Regions from separate parts of the Homo sapiens genome. Here regions 1, 2, 3, 4, 6 and 7 are each linked to region 5. The links are contacts of gene promoters, found by promoter capture Hi-C in blood cells and fetal thymus (Javierre and others, 2016). All regions are on one chromosome and are shown on one strand. Each heading gives the region's core, a stretch centred on a gene start or on the middle of the fragment in contact. The rest is flanking DNA. Distances are from core to core; before and after follow the strand shown. Region 1 overlaps SYAP1 (synapse associated protein 1). Region 2 overlaps TXLNG (taxilin gamma). Region 3 overlaps OFD1 (OFD1 centriole and centriolar satellite protein). Region 4 overlaps GEMIN8 (gem nuclear organelle associated protein 8). Region 5 holds the start of PIGA (phosphatidylinositol glycan anchor biosynthesis class A). Region 6 overlaps TXLNG (taxilin gamma). Region 7 has its middle 16 kb from the start of RBBP7.

What was found. Contacts are between HindIII fragments. The CHiCAGO score rates a contact against its expected background, and 5 or more counts as called.
Region 1: a fragment that was not itself captured here is called in contact with the fragment with the promoter of PIGA in region 5 in 9 of 17 cell types (total B cells, naive CD4 T cells, non-activated CD4 T cells and 6 more); the score reaches 15.2 in total B cells.
Region 2: a fragment that was not itself captured here is called in contact with the fragment with the promoter of PIGA in region 5 in 1 of 17 cell types (non-activated CD4 T cells); the score reaches 5.3 in non-activated CD4 T cells.
Region 3: a contact is called between a fragment that was not itself captured here and the fragment with the promoter of PIGA in region 5, in 1 of 17 cell types (neutrophils). The highest score is 5.6, in neutrophils.
Region 4: a contact is called between a fragment that was not itself captured here and the fragment with the promoter of PIGA in region 5, in 5 of 17 cell types (activated CD4 T cells, total B cells, naive CD4 T cells and 2 more). The highest score is 8.6, in activated CD4 T cells.
Region 6: a fragment that was not itself captured here is called in contact with the fragment with the promoter of PIGA in region 5 in 9 of 17 cell types (total B cells, non-activated CD4 T cells, naive B cells and 6 more); the score reaches 10.6 in total B cells.
Region 7: a fragment that was not itself captured here is called in contact with the fragment with the promoter of PIGA in region 5 in 1 of 17 cell types (total B cells); the score reaches 8.5 in total B cells.

The regions. Positions count from the first base shown.
Region 1 is chrX:16,722,418-16,725,117 of GRCh38, reverse strand. The region is part of intron 1 of SYAP1 (synapse associated protein 1); the gene reads right to left. Among named protein-coding and RNA genes, the nearest start is that of SYAP1, 4.2 kb to the right of the region's middle. The HindIII fragment of the contact is 1,937 bases long and covers 289-2,225 here.
Region 2 is chrX:16,834,845-16,837,544 of GRCh38, reverse strand. The region is part of intron 7 of TXLNG (taxilin gamma); the gene reads right to left. It overlaps LOC124905251 (a long non-coding RNA gene), which reads left to right. Exons shown (of 2, transcript XR_007068399.1): 2 at 1-2,700. Among named protein-coding and RNA genes, the nearest start is that of RBBP7, 34 kb to the left of the region's middle. The HindIII fragment of the contact is 1,489 bases long and covers 620-2,108 here.
Region 3 is chrX:13,751,859-13,754,558 of GRCh38, reverse strand. OFD1 (OFD1 centriole and centriolar satellite protein) reads right to left here. Exons shown (of 23, transcript NM_003611.3): 11 at 1,118-1,191. Among named protein-coding and RNA genes, the nearest start is that of OFD1, 18 kb to the right of the region's middle. The HindIII fragment of the contact is 7,415 bases long and covers 1-2,700 here.
Region 4 is chrX:14,009,163-14,011,889 of GRCh38, reverse strand. It overlaps GEMIN8 (gem nuclear organelle associated protein 8), which reads left to right. Exons shown (of 5, transcript NM_001042479.2): 5 at 2,721-2,727. Among named protein-coding and RNA genes, the nearest start is that of GEMIN8, 19 kb to the left of the region's middle. The HindIII fragment of the contact is 1,430 bases long and covers 695-2,124 here.
Region 5 is chrX:15,334,215-15,336,914 of GRCh38, reverse strand. PIGA (phosphatidylinositol glycan anchor biosynthesis class A) reads left to right here and starts at 1,392. Exons shown (of 6, transcript NM_002641.4): 1 at 1,392-1,414. RefSeq lists enhancers at 1,461-1,540, 1,591-1,640. The HindIII fragment of the contact is 3,001 bases long and covers 1-2,700 here.
Region 6 is chrX:16,789,774-16,792,473 of GRCh38, reverse strand. The region is part of intron 1 of TXLNG (taxilin gamma); the gene reads right to left. Among named protein-coding and RNA genes, the nearest start is that of TXLNG, 4.7 kb to the right of the region's middle. The HindIII fragment of the contact is 430 bases long and covers 1,050-1,479 here.
Region 7 is chrX:16,884,608-16,887,413 of GRCh38, reverse strand. No RefSeq gene overlaps it. Among named protein-coding and RNA genes, the nearest start is that of RBBP7, 16 kb to the right of the region's middle. The HindIII fragment of the contact is 484 bases long and covers 1,062-1,545 here.

The sequences.
Region 1 (2,700 bases), core at 8-2,507, 1.4 Mb before region 5:
CTCATAACCTTCCTGGGACAAGGAGAAGGAATAATCTGCCCAGTTCAAAAAAAGGGAAGCTGAGGCTCACAGAGGAAAAATGATTTGTCCTATGTGATAGGGGCAGATCTTGCTGGCTGCCCAGCCAGTAGCCCATCTCTTCTGCCTTGTTAAAACCACCCCAATTTTGATGCGTGCCCATGTGGCCAGCCCCAGAGAATGAATCTTGACAAGTCCACACCAAAGAAGGTAATGGCACTACCTCTGTCAGGATCTCTGCCACATACTTGCTGAGAGTCCCGTGAAGCTTAGAAAAGCCATGTGACAGCTCCACCCCAAGAAATTTAAGGGGACACCTGCAAGTCGGCATCCAGAAACATTTTCTTTCTTAATAAAAAGGGAGCTATGGGGAGAGTCCTCGTCCTCCCTTTCTACTGCAGTTGCTGTCTTGTGAGCCTGAAGTGATCAGCCTGAGGATGGAAACCAACTCACTATGGATGAAGGAGAGGAAGCGTGGAAGAGATTGGTTCCCTGATCATATCGTTGAGCCATGGAACTGACCCTGGGACCTCCCTCCCATCCCCACATTTCTTGGAGACTCTGCAGAAAAGCATTAACATGGCAGGCCTGAGACTGCTGTCCTTGGAAAGGCTTGCTTTCAAGGTTGGCCACTGGCTGGGTGTCCGGGAACTTAGATTTCGGGAGGGCTCCCACCATTTCTTAAACTGCTAAGAATGCCTCATTGTGGTTTATGCTGAACTCCCGCTTTCCTTGTGGGGTCTGGAATTTGGATATGTGGTAGGCAGAGGATACCTATACGACCAGTCCCCAGTAAAAGTCCTGGGCACTGAGTCTCTAATGAGCTTCCCTGGAAGACAGCATCTCACACGTGTTGTCACAACTCCTTGCTAGAGGAATTAAGCACGTCCTGTGTGACTCTACTGTGCCTGCTTACCCCTGGACTTCCACCCCATGTGCCTTTTTCCTTTCCTGATTTTATTCTTGTACTCTTTCATTGCAATACATCACGGCCATGAATACAACTATATGCTGAGTCCCATAAGTCTTCCTAGCCAATCATCAAACCTGGGGATGGTTCTTGGGGACTCCCTGACACAAAAATAAAGTTTCTTTCATTAAGCCTCTGATCACTGGACTTTCTGTAATTTGCAAATGATATAACAATAAAGACAGTAAGTAGTGTAGGGAACTCAAACACAGGCTATCTGCCTCTAAATCCCAAGCTCATGCTCCAATCCCACGCTGCCTCAGGTCAGTTGAGCAAGTTGACAAGGGCTTGAAGAACTGAAAGGAATGGTAAGAATAAAGTAAAGTAGGAAGAGCTTCAAAGGTCAGAAAAAACATAAATTTGTTAAAGTAAACACAGAGCAAGGTAGAGTTTAAGGCCTGCCGCAAGAATAGGAAGAGAATAAGCATACAGTGGCAAAGTCTTAGGAAATTAATATTCTTATAAAGTAGTTGGTTAATTTTTCAAAGATACTATATTTCATACAATTTTAGAATTTCAGCATCTTAGTGTGGGAATGGACCTTCCTATCCAGGTAGCCCCACTTCCAGGGGTAGGGAGCACAGGACTTAGAAGGGCAGCCAGTAATTACTGTTACTCAACTCTAATCAGAAAATTCTTCTCACTTCTCTAGTCATTTCTACCCCACAGCCTCAGGTCTATCCTCATAAGGAACATCTACGACTTCTTTTCTGCAAAAGACCTTTCAGATTTTCTGCAATGTCCCTAAGTTTCTTCTTCAAATCGAGATCCCCAATTTTAAAAAGTATTGTTCATAAGCCCTAGGATCCAAGCTATTGACTGTGCATTGTAAACCTGGGTGTGTTATCAGAACTCAATTAGATATTTTACTCCCACATCAAAGCAGGTACATAGTCACCTCTGTACACTCTAACTTTAGGAGTCCTCTTAGTTTGCAAGTTAGGCAGCTGGAACTTGAAATATACTTTCCCTACAGAAGAAAAGGAGGACAGTCTAACACAGGTCCACTGCAATACTAATAGCACTTTTCAAAGGAGGAGGAGGTGGCCCTTTCCCCATTCCTAGGCATGGAATAGTTTTAGGGGCGGTTTAGAAAAAGCTAAAGATCACAAAGCTCATCTTTGGCCATCCTCCCACTGATGTAAACTGTGTGACTGATTCAGATATTTAACATTCTCAGAAGTACAGATTTTCTTTTTATTTATTTATTTTTTTCAGAAAGAGTAGAGGCAAAGCTTTAATTTGGTTGACTTTAACAAAAACCAACTAACCAACTTAACGGCATGGGGCCTTGAGGGAGGTAGGGAGGAGCTCTTAAGTGAGTTCTCCTATAAATTGTTCCTTCCTTTGGAGACAGTGACAATCGGAGGTTGTAAATTTATCAGGAGGGAGGGCCAAGAATCAGGAGACCAGGAGGTTTGGTTTTGAGTGAGGGAGTGGAATGCAGGCCTGGGTGTCCACCACTAACTGGTGAGTTGCCTGAATGTATAAATAGGTCACCAGGAACCAGGAAGTATTTAGTGTCCAGTCTTGAAGGTAGGCACTCAACAAATATATGCAGAACAAATGGGGCTCCCAGGAGATTTTTTTTTTTTTTTTTGTGAGATGCAGTCTCACTTTGTCACCTACACTGGAGTGCAGTGGCGCGATCTCGGCTCACTGCAACCTCCGCCTCCCGGGTTCAAGCGATTCTCCCGCCTCAGCCTCTTGAG
Region 2 (2,700 bases), core at 115-2,614, 1.5 Mb before region 5:
CAGTTCCCAAACTTTCAAAAGAACGTAGTATGGTTACTTATTACAAGTGATAGAAATACGAACAAATGCACATCCAATCCTTGGACACCAGACATAGATGGCTAAAGTTCTGACAACCCACAGAAATGCATTAAAACTGAGGACATTCTGTTGACTTTAATATTAGATCTCCACCCATTGGTCATAACACAGCCTGAAGGATGTGGTGACTATAAACGTCATGCATGTGGAGTGCTCGCCCAACTACCCCTCTCCTGCCAAGTGAAAACTGTCCTTGGGAAAAGATCATTCCTTTAGAATACCACCTGCAGAGTTCTTAGTTTGATAGCAATGGTATCTCTTTCCTTAACGAAGGGAGGAAAATGCAACAGAAGCCAAAGAATTGGTTTGGTTGGGGAAGAAGAATTCGGTGAGAGTAAAATTAAAAGAAAACGTAAAGAGATCTACTCTTAACATAGTCCTACCCTCAAGGAATTTTTATTTAAGGATGAGGGAAAAATGCTAACCAACAAGGCAAGCAAAATATAAAATGGAGTCACCATCTTCTCCCCCTTAGAAAGGAGTCCAGAGAAGTATACGGGGAAGGGCACACTGAGGCTCAGGATACTTAGGGGAAGCTTCATGTGGGAGGCCTGAGCTGGCCCTCATAGGTGAGCTGAATGAGTTCATCTTAGACCAGGAGGGAACCTTTCAGAGACTATCCAACATAATCACATTATTTTCAGGATAGGGGAACAGAGAGAGACCCAGAGGAATAAAGTATTTTGGGCAAGATCACACGATAGATATAAGAAAAGCAGAGAAGAATAAAGGATCTTCAGAGGCCAAGAAACAGCATAAGCAGTGCTGGATGCAGAATATTCACCAGCACCACCTAGCGCACAGGATGCAGGGCAGGGTGGAATATGATGGTGCCCGCCCAGCCACAGCCAGCAGGGGGACGGGCCATCCCGGAAGCACTTAAGCAGCACGCACTGTGGTGTGGTGGACGCAGAAGCCAACTGAAAGTTAGTCATCTCACAGTGACCTTGTGCTTGTTAGGCTAGACGAGGTCCCTGTGAGATGGCCAAGCCACATCTGCACAAGGGCCTGGCCTGGGATGAGGACAAAGCAGGAAGAGAAATGCAGGGTGACCTGGAGAACACACAGGATTTGTTAGCAGACACTGACGGGGCCTCTGACATGACAGGCCTGGAGTTGGGGCAAGAGTGGTGCTCACGCAGAGGGAGGGAGCAGTATTAGTGCCTGAGGGACATTAGAAGTTACAGCAGTTTTGATGTGGTCCTTTAGGGTCTCACTCTGTCGCTCAGGCTGGAGTGCAGTGGCGCAATCACGGCTCATTGCAGCCTCGACCTCCCTCTTGGGCTCAAGCAATCCTCCCATCTCAGCCTCCTGAATAGAGGGGACTGTAGGCACACACCACCACACCTGGCTAATTTTTGTATCTTTTATAGAGATGGGGTTTCACCATGTTGCTCAGGCTGGTCTCAAACTCCTAAGCTCAAGCGATCCGCCCGCCTTGGCTAGGATTACAGGCATGAGCCACTGCGCCTCGCAGGCACAGTCCACTTTTATTGAAAATGGAACATCCAAATAAAGACTGTCCCATGTGAGAGTTCAGTGCTGGCCCAGTGGGTAGCCAATAAGTGGCCACTATTATCACACATGGACCTCCATGGCTAGATTACAAAACAGCGGGTGAAGACAGCACAAAGACTTTGAGTTACACCAGCAGATGCTGGGAAATGACATGGTGAGGGCAGAGAAGGTGAGACATGCTTGGGAAGGACAGCCACATTTAGAGGAAAACAAGAGGTGACAGCAAAGGAAACAAATAGTGACTGGATAAGAGGACTCTGAGTGGTACAGATCACAGACAACAGAAGCTACGATGGTGACAGTACAATAGAATTGGAGCTGGCCTGGGGGCTTGGTAAAAGGGCCCTCTGGTGACTTCCGCAGCATTGTCAATGACACCCACGTTCAGGAACATCTTCCAAAGCCATCTGGAGACTTCGTACCTTCTCCACATCAATTCTCATCTCTATTTACATGGACAACTGACTGTATAGGGCTGATAAGTAAGAGATTCAAATCTCCTAGAAGCTTTCTGGCATGATCTTCGGTTCCAAAGATTCCTCATATCTGACACCTCTTGAATATTCACTCTAAGTTAGGCTAGCTTTATAGGACCTTAAATTCATCACATTGTAAGATGTTCCCAAAGAAAAGCAGCACTCCAAAGAGGTGCTCATGAAGATCATGCCAGTCTCAAGGTCTCAGTGTTATTTTACAGCTAATCTAGAGTCTTCACAAAAACTTATATGATAAACTTTTAAGTAACACTTCTTTCAGCCAAATGTAATCTAGTTAACTGAAAAAAAGGATGAATGTATAGGTAGAAATGCCTAATTTTACCCATCTGTAAAGCCACGGCAAGTCTTTCCTGTACCTTTTTTTTTTTTTAAGGAGCTAACTCCTCCTACACTCATTCCACACAAGGCAACCACAGAGAGAGATCACAGCAGGACACACTTACAGGGTCTGGAATGAACAAGAGGGAGGGCCCTGATGAAAAACACCAGCACAAGCGATCCTGCCGCCTCGGACTCCTGAGTAGCTGGGACTACAGGCGTGCCACCACACCCAGCTATATGTAGTTTTTAAAACAACTTACGTGCTTATAGCACAAAACTCTAA
Region 3 (2,700 bases), core at 81-2,580, 1.6 Mb after region 5:
TGTAGTCCCAGCTACTTGGGAGGCTGAGGCACAAGAATCACTTGAACCCAGGAGGCAGAGGTTGCAGTGAGCTGAGATTGTGCCACTGTACTCCAGCCTGGGCAACAGAGCAAGACTCCGTCTCTTAAAAAAAAAAAAAAAAAAAGACAGTAGCCACACATTGGGTATCTGGTCAACATCAACTATCTAACCCTGGTTTCCTCCCAGGAATCTACTTGAAATTTCCACCAAAACTTCAACTTCTTGTTACAGCAATTTCCTAGAAATACATTGAAATGGGTCGGGCGTGGTGGCTCACGCCTGTAATCCCAGCACTTTGGGAGGCCGAGGCGGGCGGATCACGAGGTCAGGAGATCGAGATCATCCTGGCTAACACGCTGAGACCCCGCCTCTACTAAAAATACAAAAAATTAGCCGGGCGTGTTGGTGGGTGCCTGTAGTCCCAGCTACTGGGGAGGCTGAGGTGGAAGAATGGCGTGAACCTGGGAGGTGGAGCTTGTAGTGAGCCGAGATCGCACCACTGCACTCCAGCCTAGGTGACAGAGCGAGACTCCGTCTCAAAAAAAAAAAAAAATACACTGAAATGTAAAACATCTGAAGATTGAAAAATTATTCAACTTCCATAGTCTCAGGCCAATGTACACAAGAGTTCAGAAGGTTATACATCAAGTAAAAATATTATAAAGCATAAAAATATATTAGAAGCAAAAGAAATAAGAAACTAGGTCACAGAGGACAGAGAAGTTAAAAGTTTTCCGTAAGTGAAAAATAAAGTCTCTCATGGTTAGGAGTAATACGTACTTGACAGCAATAAGTTGCTGCTACGTTCCTGACAATTGCAGATTTATCAAAATATATGAAATAAAGTTGGATAAAATATCCATGATAAATCACTGGCCTTTGTGAATATACAAACTATTAAACATGAAGGTTCCTCAAAAGGCAGTGAAGACCATGATTTTTAATTTATAAAATTAAAATTACAAAAAATGTGTAATTTTGTATGAACAATGAAGTGTAAGCTGTATTTTTTAGAATATAGAAAAGACCCAACTTGGGAAGCTAATAACCTACAGCAGAACTGAAAAATACAGCTTATTTTCCCCCCAAACATCACCTTTATTCTTCCTTTCATCTTCAATCAGTCGATTAGTTCTAATGATGTAGTCATCCTTCAGTTCAAGTTGATACCTGAGAATCAGAATGACTAAATATGAGCTCCTCAGGCATTTTTCTGGAAAGACTGTTATCAGTGCAGGAGCTTATCTATGGCACAGGAGCACCTGAGGGTGCTAAACATGACAACTTGTAAACTTCAAAGTCCTCAATACTAAAGCCAGGGATATAACCCCTGAACATAAAATGCCCAGTAAAACCCTTCCTTGATCCTATAAACTGGGTCCCAAAACTCAATCACACAAAATGAAGCGTCGTGTTATCATAAGGTTACTTACTGAAAGCAATCACTTTTCAGTTGGTCTCAACTGACACAAAGAGCAAAGGGGTAAATTAAATTTACACAGCACACAACAGACTCAATCCCAAATGATAATCAGACGGTCACTTCCAATCCACCTGTACCATCTGCCCACCCCCAACCAAGGTAAGAACTTTTGTGCTCAGGGACTAAGCACAGTCCTGAGAGCCAACTGCCAAGAGCATTATATCCGGATTAGCAATACCAAAAGGCACATTTTCACAGTTTCACTTCCCTTTCCCAGCTGTTACCAGCTGCCCTTTTGGTTCCAAAAGGAAATAGAAGCACTCCTGTGGCGAAGAGCCTCCAAACTCCAACACCTGCCAAAGTCATATGAGGATTCCCAAAGCCAGGCAGACACCATGCAGCCTGTGGAAGCTGTCACAATGACACCAAATAGTTCACTAGCTCCATAACTATGTAAAATTAACACACATACTTTAATTCATTTATTCCTAAAAATTCAGCAACTACAGACACTTCCATTTTAGCTATTTTAGTATAGAAACTGACATAGAAGATGTGGGTAAAATACATCATTTCAAAATCAATAGATAAAAAAGCTGCCATATTTTTTAAAAATAGGATTTGTTTAAAGGATTACCTCAAGAAACCTTTGCAATATTATGTAATGGAATATCGATGACAAATTATGAGAAAGGCAATAAAAGAGGCCAAATAAGAAATGCCCAGAGCACCTGAGTTGAATCATTTCCTCGTGACACATTTACAACAAATATTAACTGAGCACTTTTTATGTGCCAGATGCTTTCCCACACACTGAAGAGAAATGTTACCACATGGGCATAATGTCGTAGCACTGAGATATTATTCACTGATACACAAAACTCAGACTACAGAAAAGCCAAAGTTACCATAGTTGTCCATATTTTCCTTTCCCTATATCACTTTTTGCCTCACATAGTTAATTTTAGCTCTTTTGATTCTGGCTTTGCTGAATCTTGAAGGAATACAAGGCACATGTTCACTGACAAATACTATGACCACTAGTATAATTTATATATTGTCAGATAACCCCATCCTTCTGACTGTATGAGTGAGGTAGAGGAAAAGATAACTAAAAGTGGTTATAATTCCAATTTTACAGCTTATCAACTATGCAAGCTAAGCAAGTCACAAGGTGTCCTGAAAATTAAAGCAAATCACAGCCCACAATAAACGTTAGAGAAGCCATAAGAAGCGCAGAGGATGTGCTTCTCTGT
Region 4 (2,727 bases), core at 160-2,659, 1.3 Mb after region 5:
CTATATATAATTGTTACAAACATTTTAAATTATAAGGAAAAGAAAAAAAAAGATGCAAAAGTTCAAAGACTAAACTCACAACATCCTACCGACAGAGAATACTTAGGATAGCTAAGATCTCAGTGTTCATTCAAACTTCTAAACTCAAAGACTCGGATTTATGCAGGAAGTTGAACATGTCTTGTGTCACCAGATCTGTCAGTGAAGCTGATTATAGTCTTGGGATAAATTTGAGAGTAATGTGACAGTGGTCTGGGAACTCTGACTGTGGGCTCTGCCCTCTGGATGCAGAGACTCCAAGGCACTCAGCAAACCCACCTGTGGGATCGTCTCCTCCAGATAGACCAAAAAAAAAAAAAAAAAAAAAAAAAAAGAGAGCCATAGGATTGGTAATGGGTACAAGGCTGCTCATAGATGGCAGAGGGACTGTGTTGTGCTAATGTGGAAATGCCAAGCCTTCAGAAAAGTAGCCCTTGAATGAGAGATTCTTTAGCCAAATTCTACCTTTCCTGGAAAGCCTGGGCAGTGCCATCAGCCCACCCACTGCCTGCTCAAGGTTCCTAGAAAGAGGCAAGTGGGAAAGGCCTGTATGAACTTAGTGACTGAATATATCTCACCAGTCTGTACTGCCCATACCAAGACCCAGTGTCCTAGGTCACCCCCGCTCTTCCTTCTAAAAGCACGAAGCTAAGCTTTCCTTCAAAGTCAGGTTCAATCATCCCAGGACAGAGGCAGGAGAAAAACAGAGATGCCCCCAGGGAGAAGCTAGTCCCCAGCGGGGCTTTCACCCTGACCTGAGTACCAGGAACACACAGAACTCTTGCGGAAATAAGAAGCTGTCATGGCGGTTGTCGAGTGCTTTCTCTAACCCACTGTTTGGCTCATCCACTCCCACGCCACTCCAACACAACTCAGTTTAGGGGGCATAGAATTTAAACACTTGTGAGAACTGAACAACTTATATGCTGATGTTTCAAACTTGGCAGAAAGACCAAAAATTAGAAACAAATGCTTGGTGGCCCCCATTCATTTGCATATTAGGCCAATATTTTGGTTTCATTCTGCATTGCCCAATGAGTTAATCATACATTTTTTCCATGGGTGAGGTAGCAGTTACGCAGCTTTTATTGTGTTTGATAGTCATTGGGCTTATTCATATAAGCCCTTAGGTAAAAATAAACTGTGGATGTTCCAAGACAGCAATGGCCACATACATTTTTAATAATGTTTCCAAGTTTATAAAACTCCTTCCCTCCAATGCCATGATGATGCTTATAAAGAGCAGGATTTATGCGAGCGACTATGCATGGCCTTATAAATATCTTTCCATTCACACTTGATTAGCTCACTACCATGTTCTGTTCCATGTATTAGTACAGGGAGGACCAACAATGGAAGAATGATTTATATGATTCTTTTATTTCCCTACAACCATCTTCACTCCTTATCTCGTGGTGTTTCTCTTGATAGCCATAGTAGCCGTGGATATGTGTTCCCTGCTGTCAATTTCTCTCTTGACAGAGTCGCTTACAAGAGCTATGGAAATTGGCTAAATTTAACCTTATGCAGCATTGTCTTACTGATACTTTTATGTTGTTGCAGTTTACATAAGAATAAAAATTATGATATTGGGACTTGCCATAGTAAAAAACAGAGGGAAGAGTAAATTGAATAGATACTTCTTGCTTTACAAGAATCCATTTAAATTAGTAGGATTAAAAGTATGTAATGATACCACTTGCAGTTTAACCTAGGCCAACCTATGAAGTGGAAAGTCAAATCCCGTAGTGAGAAAACCAACCCATTATTGCAGATTTTTTGATATAGCGGGAAGATTAGAAGTCAGAGGCCTTAATTCCATTTGTAGAATTGCCCTTTCCTCACCCTTCTTCCTTCAGCAAGTGTTGACTCATTTAACTTTTCCTTGCTTGGTATGATTTGCATTTCGAATCTGTGGAAGGATAATCAATCATCCATCATCATTGCATACTGTGCTTGCTAGCACTTGTTCTTTTCCAGGTTACCTAAAATCAATACCTCTTCCAAAGGAGTGATTTTTTCCCCCCACATCACCTCATTCATGGTGGTAAGCACTGCTCGCAACACTGGACTTTCCAGGAAGCTTTTTGTTTCCCTGCTGGCCTGGGGCAGTGTTTGAAACCAAGCAAGCTCTATCAGCCATTCCTAGCTGGGCAGGTGGTGAGTGGGCCGTGCAGATGAAAAGAGAGAACCTCAGGTGGGTTCATTTCTTTCCTGTGTTTTCAGGGCTTGTTGCAGAGGTTTGGTAGTTTGGAGTGATGAGTTTCCTTGTGGCTCTTCACCATTTCTTTTTCTTTTTTTTTTGACACCGGGTCTGGCTTTGTCACCTGGGCTGGAGTATAGTGGTACACTGCAATCTCTGCCCCCTGGGCTCAAGCCATCCTCCCACCTCAGCCTCGCAAGTAGGTGGGACTATAGGCACTCAACTCTTTGCCATTTCTCTCAGTGTATAATAACCCCTTGGTAGGTGAATGATGATAATAATCTGCAGGTCTTGCCTCAAAATCTGGTAAGCATCTCATCTGGAACACTTGGGCCTGGTTTCACAGTTGGAAAGGGAAAGATGAGGGACCTTAGGGGGCTGCAGATGGCATGGCCAGCAGCAGCAGCACTCACTGGGCTCCTTCTGCAGTGCACACACGTGTGTTTATGTTCATGTTCACGTTCGTGTTTGTTCTCAGGGCGGCA
Region 5 (2,700 bases), core at 143-2,642:
AAGTGTCCTTGAGTCTTCATCACTGTAATTCTCCGATGCTTCATCAATATTAACACAGGGCAAAGTATCGATTGCTACTCTAGTCTTACTCATCAACTCATTAATTCGCTTCAAATCTCACAACTAAAATGCTCTTTCAATGATGTTATTGCACTGTAATTTGTATAAGGTACACTCCACGAAATACTGTCAATACATTTTATTGTGAGCATCTAATATGTGTCAGGGAGTGTGCTGACATTGGGTAAAGAAATTCATGTATTAAACTAAAACTTCCTCAACATCCATTACCAAGAACAGATCCTGCCTCAGTTTACTATCTGGCAGGGAAGGCAGACATTTAACAAGCAAATACAATTTCCGTTTTCAGAAAGAAGTCCATGTGAGATCTCAAGAGACAAGTAATCAAGGATCAGGGTGAGGAGGGAGAATGCAATCAGGCAAACAACTTGAATATCATCTGATAAATGTTATACTTTGGCCAGCATGTGGCCAAAGTACTATTAAAATTAAAAAGTGAGAGTATTTCATTCTCTGGAGGCTTGGGGAAAGCATCAGAAAGGAGCAGACATTTTCAGGGATGAATAGGCTTACACTAGGCTTAATAAAATGGGTGCCAGTAACGGTGGCTGTGATGGTACTCAGAAAGGAATTTCTTCTCGAAAACGCACGTATGGCAGGGATGGGGGATTCCAAGTACCAGCTGTGACGCATGGATGACCGTCATACCACTCTCACTGATTCTTTAGCTTCCTAGTCAAGCACCATCGTAACTAGTTGAACCAGTCGAGTGGGAGTTGATATTTCAGATCAGACCTCGTATGTTTCCCTCAGAGTGTAGAATTGCCATATAAATAACAGGATGTCTAGTTAAATTTACATGTCCGATAAAAAACGAATGTGTAGTGAAGTCCCCAATATTTGGTACATGCTTGTATTAAACATCATTTGTGCTTTATCTGAAATTAAAACTTCATAGTTTCATCTGTTTTGACTTTTTGTGTATTTTTATTTATTTATCTGGCAAACGTCCCAGAGCGGTAAGAACCGGCACGGTTTTGCCGTGGCACAGCTGATTACAAACAAAAAGTCTCTCCAATCAGAAGCAAGCGCGCAGAGAACTGGCGTCCGGAATAGAGACGCTGTAACCAGGAAACCAGGGTGAGCACCCACCCTACCGTCGGCCGCTTCTAGGAGACGGGCGCAGGCGCGCGCTGACGTTACATCTCGCGCTTAAGGGTGGGGACGACAGAGCGTCTCTCTCGGACGTGACCTCAGCGCCTCTTTGTGATTGGCTGCCTCGGGGGCGCGGCCCTTGGGCGCGGACGCCCTAGATTGGTGCTGCGGAACAGCAGGGAGGGACTCCGGCTGCAGCCGCGGGAGGTCCGGACACTGGCGGCCATGGAACTCACCGGTGAGTGCGCGTCGCGCCGCCCCTCTCCAGCGCTCTGGGCCGCTTTCGGATGGGGCTGTTCTGCGCGCGTGGGATCGTGGCGGGTGGTGGAGGGGGTGAAACCGACCCGGTTCGAAGCCCGGAAGTTGGGTCGGAGGGTCTCCAGAGTAGGTTGGGGCTGAGGGTGCGTTTAGGGCGGACGCGCTGGGTTCCTTGGCTCAGGCGGGTGGGTCGAGGGACTGGGGTCTCCGGAACCCCGGGCCTGAGACCAACGTCCACTCTTTGGTTGTTTTCTTTCTCTCTTTGGGCCTGGCCATCCCCGCCATGAACCCAGCGGGGTCGCTGTCTGAGCAGGGGTATCCCCTCCTTGGCCCGAGCGTTTCCCCAGCGACCTCTCAGGGAATCAGGGAATGAAGCTCAGACAGTGCCCAGGAATTGTCGGTGGAAGTACCATTCTCTTGACCCACAACTCCTGCCAGGTCTCCCTAAGGTTCTTCAGGAACCTCTACTGCTAATGATTGCCCAGGGCTCGTTGGTCGTGGTCGAGAATTTTACGGTAATGTCTTTGCCACTTTAAGTGGCTGGGTGGGAACCTTGGACAAATCACTCAACTTGTCTGGGTTCTCATTTGTAAAACGAGAGAGGTATTCACTAGAGCTCCAAGCCTCATTTCGGCTTTAAGAGCTAAGATTCTGCGATTGTGCAGCATAATGAACTTTTATGTCAAAGATGTTTGGACTGAAAACCTGGCGGAAGTGGGCAGACTCCTCACAGAACGTTGCAGGCTAATGACAACATTTTAAATGATATCATTTGGTTCATTACTCACTGTTTTTGCTATCGTTCATCTTTTAAAACTGGTAGAACTGGAAGTTCGGGTTTAGGTGACCACAGTAAGAAAATGTTAGTTAAGCCACCTAAAAGTACAAACTTGGGGAATTTCAATATTTGGTAATATTGAATCTTAATTAGTAAACTCAGTCAACAAACACTTCTGGGGTCTTTCCGAGAGTATATTTAAAATGTAGATGAGGCCGGGCACGGTGGCTCACACCTGTAATCCCAGCACTTTGGGAGGCCGAGGCTGGTGGATCACCTGAGGTCAGGGGTTCGAGACCAGCCTGGCCAACATGATGAAACCCCGTCTCTACTAAAAATACAAAAATTAGCTGGGCTTGTGGTGTGCGCCTGTAATTCCAGCTATTCAGGAGGCTGAAGTGGGAGAATCGCTTGAACTCGGGAGGCAGAGGCTGCAGTGAGACGAGATCGCTCCACTGCACACTAGCCTGGGCAACAGAGTGAGACTC
Region 6 (2,700 bases), core at 15-2,514, 1.5 Mb before region 5:
CGTTATATTAACTAAAAGTTATTCATAATCACATTAGAACCAAACAAGAGGAATTAGGGGGAGGGCAGCAGGAAGAGGAGGAACAGGCAAACAGATTTCTTGAGGTATTAAGTTAAAACTTAACGAGGTAAGCAGAAACTTCCTGGGCATTAGAAGACATCTGTCATACTATCAATTACACAACTATACACTAACCCTAGCAAACGTCACCAACTGTGGGCTCTATTATTCAAGCAAGTTTGTTTCTGACTAAGACTCAGATGCCTTATCTATATACCTGGGGATACCACCTACCTTGCAGAGTTAAGGAGATATTAGAATGCATTCACACCTTAAGTGACTAACACAGTGCATGAAACACAAATGAAATTTGAGGTCTCCAAATTTCTTTCCTTTGAAACATAACTCTGAGAAGTGTAAAACTGTGACAGCATATCTATTTAATAGAAGCCCATTATAGTGAATCTTGTGAAGAATCCCACAAAAGCAGTTTTATGTCATTTGGATTTGATATATACCTTCCTAAACAAAACTTCTCTAGGCAAGACCAATATAAATAACACACAAAATAACATAAAACACCTTCCAGGCAGGGCGCGGTGGCTCATGCCTGTAATTCCAGCACTTTGGGAGGCCAAGGCAGGTGGATCACTTGAGGTCAGGAGTTCAAGACCAGCCTGGCCAACATGGTGAAACCCCATCTCTACTAAAAATACAAAAATTAGCCAGGCCTGGTGGCGCATGCCTGTAATCTCAGCTACTCGGGAGGCTGATGCAGGAGAATCACTTGAACCCGGAAAGTGGAGGTTGCAGTGAGCTGAGATTGCGCCATTGCACTCCTGCCTGGGCTACAGAACAAGACTCCATCTCAAAAAAACAAAATAAATTAAAAATAAATAAATAAAACACGTTCCAATAACATAATAAATATGACATAATATGATATGAAAATGTGGCATGAATAGCAGAATATGCTGTATCTGGTTTGTTCTCATTACTGCTTGTCCTATTTGATCCCAGTAAAAGAAAAAAATAAATTTACCAAAGCTTGGTGATACAATTAGAAAACAATGGTGTAAGCAGAAGATCACTTTACTTTACTTCTCATTACTTAATCTCTGTACCAGAAGAGTGGAAGTTCATCAAGTTGGCAAATGGGGAGAAAAACAAGATTAATGAAATGGCTTTTTCCTGCCCCCATACTCTTGCCCAACCCTGACCTGATTTCTCCTCATTATGTCTATCACGGAGAGATTCTGGGAAGAGGAGAGAATATAAAGGTTGGAAGATGGATTTACAAAATTAGCACCCTAAATGCAAGAGAAATTAATCTCTTCCATATGTCCTCCCCTCCAAACCATGTAAAATTCTACATATCCCACACTGTGCCAAATGTGTCCCATCAACTCCTTCTTCACAGTAATCCCCTGTGGTAGGTATGAGCATTATCCCCTCTTTACAGATGATGCAACTGAAGCTTAGAAAGATTGAGAAACTTGCCCAAGGTTGCAGAGCTATGGGCGGCAGAAAGCCAGGAGTCCCAACTCCAAAATCCATAGATTTACCCAGTACTACACTACTCATTACTGTAGTATAGATGAAAGAGTATTGGGTTCCAGACTCAGCTTCACCCCTTAGGCAAGTGAGTTAACATCGTTGAGCAGCTTGTCATCAGCAAATGAGGGCAGTGAAAGCTGCCCAGCCTTCTCCACAGCATCTGACTGGTGCTGAAAGAGTTAATGTATGTGCAAATGTGCCATAAAAACTACAGGGCATTATGTAAATGCAAGATTTTGTTAATTTGGGCCTAGGTACCTTGTATTATCCTTCCACATGGTTTATGGACCTAAAAATTAGTTTAATAGTAGTTAAATAATTTTTAACATTCCCAAGCAAAAATCTAGTAAAGAAAAAAAATACCAACCTTAGACAAGCTGGAAAAGGCAAAACTATGGAGACAGTAAAAAGATCAGGCCAGGTGTGGTGGCTCATACTTATAATTCCAGCACTTTGGGAGGCCAAGGCAGAACGATCGCCTGAGCCTAGGAGTTCAAGACCAGCCTGGGCAACATAGCAGGACCCCCAACTCTAAAATTTAAAAAAAATAAAATCAGTGGCTGTCAGTAGTCTAGGGGAAGGGAGAGAGGGATGAATAGGTAGAGCACAAGGGATTTATAGGACTGTGAAACTCTTCTGTGTGATACTATAATCGTGGATCCATGTCACTACACATTTGTCAAAATGCATAGAATATATAGCACCAGAGTGAACCCTAACGTAAACTATGGACTTAGTCAATAATAATATAGCAATATTGGCTCATGAATTTTAACACAAGTATCACACTAATGCAAGATGTAAATAATAGGGGATAAGGGTCGGGCGCAGTGGCTCACACCTGTAACCTCAGCACTTTGGGAGGCCGAGGCGGGCAGATCACCTGAGGTCAGGAGTTTGAGACTAGCCTGACCAACATGGAGAAACCCCGTCTCTACTAAAAATACAAAAAAAATTAGCCGGGCGTGGTGGCACATGCCTGTAATCCCAGCTACTTGGGAGGCTGAGGCAGGAGAATTGCTTGAACCCGGGAGGCGGAGGTTGTGGTGAGCCAAGATCATGCCATTGCACTCTAGCCTGGGCAACAAGAGCGAAACCCCATCTCAAAAATAATAATAATAATAGGGGGAAAGGGTGTGTGTG
Region 7 (2,806 bases), core at 54-2,553, 1.6 Mb before region 5:
ACACGACACCATGACAAGAGGTGGTGAGAGGTTGGACACGTGTTCCAGTTTGTCCGTAAGCATTCCAATTGTTATCCACATGCAGTTCTCCTTCCAAATGCTGGTCTGGCTGACCTATAGCAACTTCAGGCTCAACAATAAACATGGAGGTGACAGCTTACACATACTCTTCCCCCAGTCGCATAGGATCGAATCCCTATAATAAATCCCTTATTCTAGATCTCTCATGGCAGTTCTGCTTATCAGATCGACCCCTGACTGATACACTTCCCGCTATACTCAGTGACATTAGAGTGGCTACAGGCATTTTGGGGATCTAGCTAGGGGAAGTTGAGTTGGAGATATATTTGGCTAGGGTTTAGAGAAACATACATGTTTGACGGTCATTTCCATGAATGATTAAGTCATTGATTAGCCATCCAAATAAGGAATAGCTCTCAGGAATACTCCTACACCCCACTGCCAGAGGACATATCACAATATGATCATGTCTGAGGGCACCTGGCACCAGATGTGGGTAGTGGACAAAAAACGAGGCTTATGGTCAGGTGCAGTGGCTCATGCCTGTAATCCCAGCACTTTGGGAGGCCAAGGTGGGCAGATCACCTGAGGTCAGGAGTTTGAAACCAGCCTGGCCAACATGGTGAAACCCCGTCTCTACTAAAACTACAAAACTTAGCCAGGCTTGGTGGTGTGTGCCTGTAATCCCAGCTATTCAAGAGGCTGAGGCAGGAGAATTGTTTGAACCTGGGAGGCGGAGGTTGCAGTGAGCTGAGATCACGCCACTGCACTCCAGTCTGAGCGACAGAGTGAGACTCTGTCTCAAAAAAAAAAAAAAAGGCTTAAAATGCACAAAGCCAGAAGCAAGCCTGGGGAAAGTTCTTCCAAGCATATTATGTGATTTTTCCAGATTTTGTGATGTTTCTGGTATTTGTCAGCTTTTTAACATTTGTAATGTGTCGTGATTTCTCATTCCAAATACTTATTCACTTTTGTATCTAATGTTGTACTATGAAGTTCGTATTATTGTTCTTAAAGAGGGCCCCCAAACTGCATAAGCTTCAGCACCCATGAGATCATATTCTGCTCTTAAATATCAAGCTGGAGAAACTGGAATCCACTCTGGAGCCAATCAGAAATCATCACAGGATTCTGGCAGAAGAATGGAATAATCAGGTCTGTACCAAGCAGTGATGTGTTGGAGAAGGGTCATACTGGTTCATGAGAGCTCATTGTGAAGTTTTCAGGAATTTTATGAGGTGACTGACGTCAGATCGGTAGCTTGAAATCAGCCACTGCAGGAGTATTTATACCACAGAAATTGGCAAGTGCTGCAAATCAGGCCTTCCCCCACCACCAGAGAGCCGGTTATTAAACATATACCAACACATCACTGGTATAATACCAGGTGATTCCCTTGGTCATAAATCTTCATGAGAAAATATCCCTGGAATGAATTGACTCTCAAGTGTAGCTGATAGAGATGGGGGTTAGGGAGGGAAGAAAGGGTAGAAGGCATCACAGAGGAGAAGTTGCTTAAAAGCTTTAAGTACCTGAAGGAGAGAAATAAAGAAAAAGGATGTGAAACTCAAGAGAAACAAAATTGTACCCATCCCCCAACTTTGTCTAAGATGAATCTTGCTGATCTTCCATTCTACATGGGAGCACACTGCAGTGAAGTTTTGTTTGTTTGTTTTGTTTTGTTTTTTTGAGACAGAGTCTTGCTCTGTCACCCAGGCTGGAGAGCAGTGGCGCAATCTTGGCTCACTACAACCTCTGCTTCCCAGGTTCAGGCGATTCTCCTGTCTCAGCCTCCCGAAAAGCTGGGATCACAGGTGCATGCCACCACACCCGGCAAATCTCTGTATTTTTAGTAGAGATGGGGTTTCTCCATGTTGGCACACCTGGTCTGGAACTCCTGGCCTCAAATGATCTGCCCACCTTGGCCTCCCAAAGTGCTGGGATTACAGGTGTGAGCCACCACACCCAGCCTGCAGTGGAGATTTTTGAGTTTGTGTGTTGCATGGTTACTTGGGCAAGCTCTGATTATAACATATGTAATTTAATATTCTAAATTGGATTTAGAATCACAATAAAAGGTCATTGTCTTTGTTTCTGTTTTAATATATTCAGATATATTAAAATAAATATGAAGATACATATTTTCAATGACGTTATTAAATTACACAGATCATATTTCGTCTAGCTCAAGGTGCCATGATTATAAGATACACCATTATTTTATATATAAAACTAAGAAAAAATATGTTGCCAACTATACTATGACGTATTTCAGATGAACGTTAATTCAGAGATGTTAAAATGTGGGGGAAAAAGAGAATGAGTCTCATAATCAGTGAAATACGAAATAACCTTTGGATCTCTCCTGGGCTAAAAACATTGTTTGAGGAATGAGGAAATTATAGATCCGGAAGAGCAAACCATCTACTTAAGGGGATAGGCCTAGTTAGTGACAGAGTTGGAAATGAAATGCAATTATCTCCCTGCCTTGATCAGAGCTCACAGTGATTAGAGAATTTCATACATCAGAGAGCAATAAGGGGCTAATGTGGAAGTACCTTTTACCTCTGAGAATACAATGTGCTAAAATGTACGGATTGTCCTCTGATAAATCAGAAAATGCTATATAGGACAAAATGACAGCATCTGCTAAAAAGGTCCCCATATCTAGCATTGGTTTCTTTTTTTTTTTTGAGATGGAGTCTCACTCTGCCTTCCAGGCTGGAGTGCAGTGGCGTGATCTCAGCTCACTGCAACCTCCGCCTCCCGGGTTCAAGTGATTCTC